Linked DNA regions of Homo sapiens: regions 1 and 3 are each linked to region 2. The links are contacts of gene promoters, found by promoter capture Hi-C in blood cells and fetal thymus (Javierre and others, 2016). All regions are on one chromosome and are shown on one strand. Each heading gives the region's core, a stretch centred on a gene start or on the middle of the fragment in contact. The rest is flanking DNA. Distances are from core to core; before and after follow the strand shown. Region 1 overlaps GNL3L (G protein nucleolar 3 like). Region 2 holds the start of FAM120C (family with sequence similarity 120 member C). Region 3 has its middle 120 kb from the start of GNL3L.

Region 1 (2,700 bases), core at 109-2,608, 350 kb before region 2:
TGCTTGTAGCCCCAGCTACATGAGAGGTTAAGGTAGGAGGATCCCTTGAGCCCAGGAGTTCTAATCCAGCCTGGGCAACAAAGCAAGACCCCATCTCTTAAAAAAATACACAAACACAGACTGCTTTAACAGTCAAAACTTAAGCTGGGCACAGTAGCACCTGCCTGTTGCTAGCTGGGAGGCTGAGGCAAGAGGATCACTTGACCCTAGGAGTTCGAGAACAGCCTAGGCAACATAGTGAGACTCTGTCTCTTAAAAAAATTCAATAGAAATAGTGAAAAACAAAAAAGACATCACTAACAACCAAATTAATAAGCTAGAAGACCAAAGGAGGGGCTTACTTAGAGCAAAAATTCAAAGAAATTGAAATGATGAGCAAAAATATAAAAGAAAAAATGGACAATAGAGCCAAGACAGCTAAAATCTAAACAGGAGTTCCTGAAAGAGAAAAGGGTACAAATGGAGAAGCAATAATTTTCTGAATAACAGACGAAAGTTCCTTAAGTTGAACATAGGCTTGAGGTTTCAGACTGGAAAGACACAGGCAGCAGCAAGATTAACAACCAAGGCCGGGTGCCATGGCTCACCCTGTCATCCCAGCATTTTGGGAGGCTGAGGTGGGAGGATCGCTTGACACTAGGAGTTTGCGACTAATCCAGGCAACATAGTGAGACCTTGTCTATATAAAAAAAAAAGTTTAATTAACCAGGTGTGGCGGCATGCACCTGTAGTCCTAGCTCTCAGGAAGCTGAGGCGGGAGGACTGGTTGATCCCAGGAATTCAAAGTTATAATGAGCTATGATGGCACCATTGCACTCCAGCCTGGACAACAGAGACCCTGTCTCAAAAAAAAAAAAAAAAAAGATTAACAACCAAAAAGACATACCCTGGACATATCCTGATGAAATTTCTGAACTCTAAAGATAAAGAGATAAAATTCTAACCAACAGATCACTCTTACTTTGTGAAAGTAAGAAAAAGACATTTTCAGGTGAGCAAAGATTACCACTTGCCTTTCTTTCTTTCCTTTCTTTCCTTTCCTTCCTTCCTTTCTTTCGTCTCTCCCTCCCTCCCTCCCTCTCTCTCTCTGTTTTTTTTTTTTTTTGAGACAAAGTCTCGCTCTGTTGCCCAGGCTGGAGTGCAGTGGTGCCACCTGAGCTCACTACAACCTCCACCTCCCAGGTTCAAGGAAATCTCCTGCCTCAGCCTCTGGAGTAGCTGGGATTACAGGCGTGCACCACTGTGCCTGGCTAATTTTTTTATTTTTAGTAGAGACGGGGTTTCGCCATGTTGGCCAGGCTGGTCTCAAACTCCTGGCCTCAAGTCATTGGCTCGCCTTGGCCTCCCAAAGTGCTGGGATTACAGGCATGAGCCACCACGCCTGGCCCTGTGTTTCCTTTTGGATAAAACTACTGGCAAAATAAAAATTAAATCAGAATAAAGATCCCAAGCTAAAGGAAACAAACAGTGGTGGGCAGGAAATCTACGGAAATCTACTAAAACTTATCACTGAGGCCAGGAGCGATGGCTCACAGCTATAATCCCTGCACTTTGGGAGGCCAAGGCGGGTGGATCACTTGAGGTCAGAAGTTCAAGACCAGCCTGGCCAACATGGTGAAACCCCATCTCTACTAAAAATACAAAAATTAGGAGTTTGAGACCAGCCTGCCCAACATGGTGAAACCCCGTCTCTACTAAAAATACAAAAATTAGCCGGATGCCTGACTTGAGGTCAGGAGTTTGAGACCAGCCTGCCCAACATGGTGAAACCCCGTCTCTACTAAAAATACAAAAATTAGCCGGGCGTGTTGGCACGCACCTGTAATCCCAGCTACTCGAGAGGCTGAGGCAGGAAAATTGCTTGAACCCAGGAGGTGGAGGTTGCAGTGAGCCAAGATCGCACCACTGCACTCCAGCCTGGGCAACACAGCAAGACTCTTGTCTCAAAAAAAAAAAAAAATTAGCCAGGTGTGATGGCACATGTTTGTTGTCCCAGCTACTCAGGAGGCTGAGGCAGGAAGATCACTTGAGCCCAGGAGGCGGAGGTTGTGGTGAGCCATGATCACACCTGCACTCTAGCCTGGCCGACAGAGTGAGACCCTGTCTCAAAAAAACAACAAAAAAAGGATTCTTAAAATCGAAGAAGCATATCATAAGGAAATAGCTCAGAACTGAAATACCAAATTATTTCAATAAAATCCAGGAATCAAGTAATGGGGGTTGGAAAAGCAAAAGCATGAAAGCATGCTAAAGGTTTCATTTTGAAAGGGTAGGTTACAAAATAGTCATTATTTAACTTTGGTAAAGTGATAAATACAGAATTAATTATGTTTGATATAAATATGAATACAATTACCAACATAACTTAATTACCGATGGAGGATTGTTTAAAAACTTCATCAAGTTAGCAAAACATAAATAAGGGAATAAGAGGAAACAAAATAAATAATAAATATAAAATAAGATGGTAGAGAGCCGTGCACGGTGGCTCACACCTGTAATCCCAGCACTTTGGGAGGCTGAGGTGGGCGGATCACTAGGTCAGGAGTTCGAGACCAGCCTGGCCAACATGGTGAAACCCTGTCTCCACTAAAAATACAAAAATTAGCTGGGCATGGTGGCAGGCACCTGTAATCCCAACTACTCGGGAGGCTGAGGCAAGAGAATCGCTTGAACCCAGGAGGCGGAGGTTGCAGTGAG
Region 2 (2,700 bases), core at 30-2,529:
TTTCAAAAGATTATGACTCCATACATCTGAAATTAGAGCCCTTGCAGCTATTTAGAAAAGCTCCCGACAGACTAAAACACAATGAAGTTTGGAAACCAAAGGCCCTAACCATAGGACATAGTGGATCTAGGAGTACCAAAAAGGTACAATTTGTAATGTAATTTGTGTTGGTAATTATCTCCCTGCCCAAAGAGATGCTGAGGGCAAGGATATTCGATTTAACTTTGTCTCTGCATTGCCTTAGGCAAGTAAATAATGTAAGTTTCTTTTTATTTATTTATTTATTTTTGAGACGGAGTCTGGCTCTGTCACCAGGCTGGAGTACGGTGACATGATTTTGGCTCACTGCAACCTCCGCCTCCCAGGTTCAAGCGATTCTCCTGCCTCAGCTTCCCCAGTAGCTGGGATTACAGGCACGTGCCACCACGCCCGGCTACTTTTTGTATTTTTAGTAGAGACGGGGTTTCACCATGTTGGCCAGGATGGTCTCGATCTCCTAACCTCGTGATCTGCCCGCCTCGGAGGGATTACAGGCGTGAGCCACCGCGCCCGACCAGTTACGTCTTTCTTAATTGGGACCAACAGCTCTTTAAATATTATCTTTCCACTAAGGGGAAAATCCTCCCTCCTGGGGAGTTTTAGCTCACTTTAGCTGAATTCAGTCAATCCACTCTAACTTCCATTCCCATGATGCATCAATCCATCCCCCAAAACTCTTTTTCCAGGAAAAAGCAGTAAATAACCTAAGCAACTCAGTGAGATGCAAGGAGTTGGAGTGCAACTCCTAAACACTCATCATCACGCCCCGCTTCCTGTGACCCTGTGAGCACAAGGGCTGAGAAGGGTGGTAGTCTGGTTCCTCGACTATATCCTAAGGCCATAGAGAAGACTACAACTACCAAGATGCCCCTCTCCCCGCCCCGCCCCGCCCCTCCTCGCTCCCCTTCCTCCAGCTAGAAAGCGTGTACCACCGAGAAGACGAGGCAACATGGCTCCCGGAGGTGGAAGAAAGAGGCTTCACCCCTTCTAAAGCGGGAAGAAGAGCGGCCGGAAAGGAGAAAAAAGAGAAGTGACTAGAGCCCATCCTCGCTTTTATCCTCCCAGCCTCTCCCGGGTCCGGTCTGCCCCTCCCCTTCTCTCTACCCAAATCCAATTTGTGGTCTCCTCCCCTCCCCGCCCTCATTCCCTCGCTTCCTCACCCCTCCCCTCGGGAATCCTTTTCCCGCCCCCCCTCGCCCCCCGCGGAGTGCGCACGCGCCCGCCCCCAGCTTCGCGCCCAGATCGTCGCCTATCCTGCTTGCGCAGCCGCTATCGCGTCTGCCCACCGACGAAGCATGGGTGTCCAGGGCTTCCAAGAGTTCCTGGAGAAGCGCTGTCCCGGGGCCGTGGTGCCCGTGGACCTCCTAAAACTCGCGCGCACGGTCTCGCGCCAGCAGCAGCAGCAGCACTTGCACCGCCAGCTGCCGCCGACTGCAGCCCTAGCGCCCGGGGCTCCACGCGCCGCCAGGGGCTCCGTGCCTCTGCAACCGCCGCTTCCGCCCGCTGCCTTGGGTGCCTACTCCGGGGGCGCGGGGCCGACTCGGCACCATCACCCCGCTCACCACTTCCACCATCATGGCCAAGCGCAGCCCGGGCTGCACCCTCCGCTGCCGCCGCCGCCGCCCCCTCAGCTGCCCGGGGCCCGGGTGCTGGTGGACGCCGGCTCGGCGCTGCCGCGGCTCTATGGCGGCTACCAGACGGATTGGGTGTGTGGCGGCCAATGGAACGCCATGCTGGGCTACTTGTCAGCGCTGTGCCAGGCTTGTGCCTATCCTGGCGGCGACGGCCTGGAGCTCGTGGTCATGTTCCCGGGGGGCCTGGGCAAGGACCGGCTGGCCGAGTGGGGCCGTCGGTGCCAGGCCGAGCGGCAGACAGCGCAACTGATCGTGGGACACGTGGGCAACAAGGGCACCCCTCCACCGCGGGCCTGGTTCCTGCCACCGGCCTGCCTGAGCCACTGCGTGAGGCTAGCACTCATCCGCTTCCGGGTCAAGGTGAGGGAGGGGCCGGATCTTAAATAATAAGCCCCACACCTATTCCCTCCCAACTAAATACCTAACCACCTACCCACTTACCCACTACCCTACCTCCCATCTACCCACCCACCTACCCGCCCAACAGCTAACCTACCTGCCTAACTACCCTCTACCATTTTATCCATTTACCTCCCCCTTCATACCACCCCCTACGGATTCACTCACCTACATGGCCATATCTCTACTCATGTCATCCCAGTAGCTCCCTTTAGCTTCCCTTATCCAATTGGCCTACCACTAGGTTTCAGCAGAATCTAGTCAGAATTTCTTTTGTAGCCTCATCTTTCTCCTGGTGTCTTCTGCCTCAAACTGAAATGCCTTTACCCTGCTTTTGCCAGTTGACATCTCTCTCCTGTATCTCTTTCCAACCTCGCAGTAAATCACTTAAGCAGGTGTGAACTGAACACCTTTCTTCTACATTGTTTTTCCGTCTTCACCCACTGCTGCTTTTTTACCCATCTGTGTCCATTCAGCCTTTTTCATTTCAACATGCATCTTCTTCCTCCTGCCTTAGCCTAAACACATAAAAACCCACTGATTCAGTCACTGTTCAGCAAGTATTAACTCACTGAGTGTAAGGGTTTTAAAGACATGTGAGACACTGCTCATGCCCTTGGAAAGTTAA
Region 3 (2,713 bases), core at 171-2,670, 460 kb before region 2:
CTAAATATCTAAAGCAACATATTAATCAAAGGGGAAATTGGTGGGCAGGGAGGAGTGGGGAGAGGGGTCATATAGGAACTCTCTGTACTTTCCATTCTTTTTTTTTGAGATGGAGTCTCGCTCTGTCGCCCAGGCTGGAGTGCAGTGATCTCAGCTCACTGCAACTTCCCCCTCCCGGGTTCAAGCGATTCTCCTGTCTCAGCCTCCCGAGTAGCTGGGACTACAGGCGCGTGCCACCATGCCTGGCTAATTTTTGTATTTTTAGTAGAGATGGGGTTTCTCCATGTTGGCCAGGCTGGTCTCGAACTCCTGACCTCAAGTGACCCGCCTGCCTCGGCCTCCCAAAGTGCCAAGATTACAGGCGTGAACCACCATGCCCAGCCACCATTCATTTTTTCTATAAACCTTAAACTGCTCTAAAATATGAAGTCTATTATTTTAAAATAAATAAATAGCAATATATGCACATTATATAGAAATATGGACATAATATGAGGGGAAACAGCTAGAACTGCATTTGTTGACATGGAAAGAAGAATAGGGTATGTGGAATGATAGGATGGAGGCTGACTTTTTTTATTAAGAGCCTTTAATACTGTATTAATCACTTAATACAAAGTAATAATTACCTTTATAAACAATATTGATTTTTTAAAGAACAAACATAAAATAATAGAATAGCCATCATTTATCATTTCTCAGTAAATTCCACTGCAGTTTGTTTAAATAGTCTACTTGGATTAAACAATCTGTGCTAGCATCTCCACATTTACAATTAATGATGTTTATTCCCATAGATATCCAAGGAGCATATAAAATGTCTCAGAAACGATAATATGCAGCAAAGAAACATGGAAGGGATGGATGGCTGGCATTCAGTGGAGTCCTCCCTTAATATAGGCACATCTTCAGTCCTTGAATGGTCAGGGACTACAAAAAACAGTTTGGGAAATGCATGGACTCCGAACAAAGTTCACATGTAAGAAAGCCACAGACAAATCTCACTTATACATATTGATGTAAAATAAATAAAATATTAACAAATGGAATTCAGCAGTAAATTGAAGAAGTAAAAACTGTGGGGTCCATTCTAAGAGTGCAAGAGTTATTCAATATTAGGAAATACACATAATTCATTGTACTAATAGGTCAAATGAAAAAACCCACACGGTCATCTCAATGGATGCCCAAAAGATGAATTTAACAAAATTCAAGATGTATTTCTGATTTAGTTATCTAGGAATGGATACTTTCTTGACATACTTTTTATACTCTATATTTCTAACCGAAAACCAGTATCATGCTGAATAATGAAATGTGAGACTCTCCATTAAAGTCAGAGAAAAGGTGCAAGCCCCATTATCACCACTATTACTATTCTGAAGGCAATACATAACACAATTAGACAAGATAATTAAATGAGGCACAAACTTGGGATAGCTATTATAGGAGCAAAATAATCTCTATTTGTTGATGACATAGCTGTGTAACTTGAAAGCCTGAGGAAATTTATGGAAAACCTATTAAAAACAATAATAGGATTTAGTGACGTACTGGTAATTGCTTTCCCACAACCAGTTCAAAAAGATAAGGGAAAAATATCCCCTTCACAATAGCAACTAAAATAGGAATAAACCTAACAAGGAACACATAAAACATATAAAAATAAAACTTTAAAATTCTACTAACATAAAAAATTGAATAACTAGAAATCCATACCTTACTCTCCAATAGGAAGATTCGATATTATAAAAGACAATGATTTTCTCTAAATTAACCTATAAATTCAATATAATCCCGGTCAAAATGTCAATAGGCAATTTTATATTATTTTTACTTTCACAATGTGTGCTAAGATTCACCTGGAAGAATAAGTATGTGAAAACAGGCAGAAATTTTCTGAAAAAGAAGCAAAAGAGGCTTTGCCCAACCAGATATGAAGATATATATTTTGAAGTTACATTAATTACAATGGGGTGGCACTGGTGCAGGCACAGACATTCAGATCAATAGAATAAAATAGTGCAGAAATAAACAAAAGCACATATGAAAACTCCATATTTGATAAAGGTGACATTCCAATTCAATGAGTCAATAATTATTAGTCAATAGATGGTACAGAGACAGTAGACTTAGCATTTGAAAGGAAAAGAAGCTAGATCCCTGTCCTAAATCCTACCCCAAAATAAATTCCAGATAGATCAAAGATTTAACTGTAAAACTGAAACCATAAAAGTACTAGCAGACAACATGGATGAATCATTTTTAATACATAATTTTGGAGTGGGTAAAGTATTTGTAATCACTGCAGTTAAAATGGCTTTTCTCAAAAGGACAAAAAATAACGGATGCTGGCAAGGATGCTGAGAAAGGAGAATGTTTGTACACTGTTAGTGGGAATGGAAAGTAGTACAGCCACTATGGAAAACAGTTTGGAGATTCCTCAAAAAACTAAAACTAGAACTGCCATATTATCCAGCAATCCCAGTGCTAGGTATACATCCAAAAGAAAGGAAATCAGTATATTGGAGAGATATCTGCACTCCCATGTTTATTGTAGCACTATTCAATATAGTCAAGACACAGAATCAACCTAAGTGTCCATCAACGGATGAATTGATAAAGAAAATGTGGTATATATACATAATTGAATATTATTCAGCCATACAAAAAGAGTGAAATCCTGTCATTTATAACAACATGCATGACATTA

What was found. The method cuts DNA at HindIII sites, captures the fragments that hold promoters and counts their contacts. A CHiCAGO score of 5 or more calls a contact.
Region 1: a fragment that was not itself captured here is called in contact with the fragment with the promoter of FAM120C in region 2 in 1 of 17 cell types (monocytes); the score reaches 5.3 in monocytes.
Region 3: a contact is called between a fragment that was not itself captured here and the fragment with the promoter of FAM120C in region 2, in 2 of 17 cell types (total B cells and total CD4 T cells). The highest score is 6.3, in total B cells.

Annotation. Positions count from the first base shown.
Region 1 is chrX:54,535,190-54,537,889 of GRCh38, reverse strand. All of the region lies in intron 2 of GNL3L (G protein nucleolar 3 like), which reads right to left. Among named protein-coding and RNA genes, the nearest start is that of GNL3L, 6.3 kb to the right of the region's middle. The HindIII fragment of the contact is 6,851 bases long and covers 1-2,700 here.
Region 2 is chrX:54,181,833-54,184,532 of GRCh38, reverse strand. FAM120C (family with sequence similarity 120 member C) reads left to right here and starts at 1,279. Exons shown (of 16, transcript NM_017848.6): 1 at 1,279-2,033. The coding sequence starts at 1,335. RefSeq lists silencers at 847-946, 1,517-1,726, 1,737-1,786. The HindIII fragment of the contact is 3,156 bases long and covers 1-2,700 here.
Region 3 is chrX:54,643,910-54,646,622 of GRCh38, reverse strand. It overlaps a transcript of GNL3L not described here. Among named protein-coding and RNA genes, the nearest start is that of GNL3L, 120 kb to the right of the region's middle. The HindIII fragment of the contact is 5,734 bases long and covers 1-2,713 here.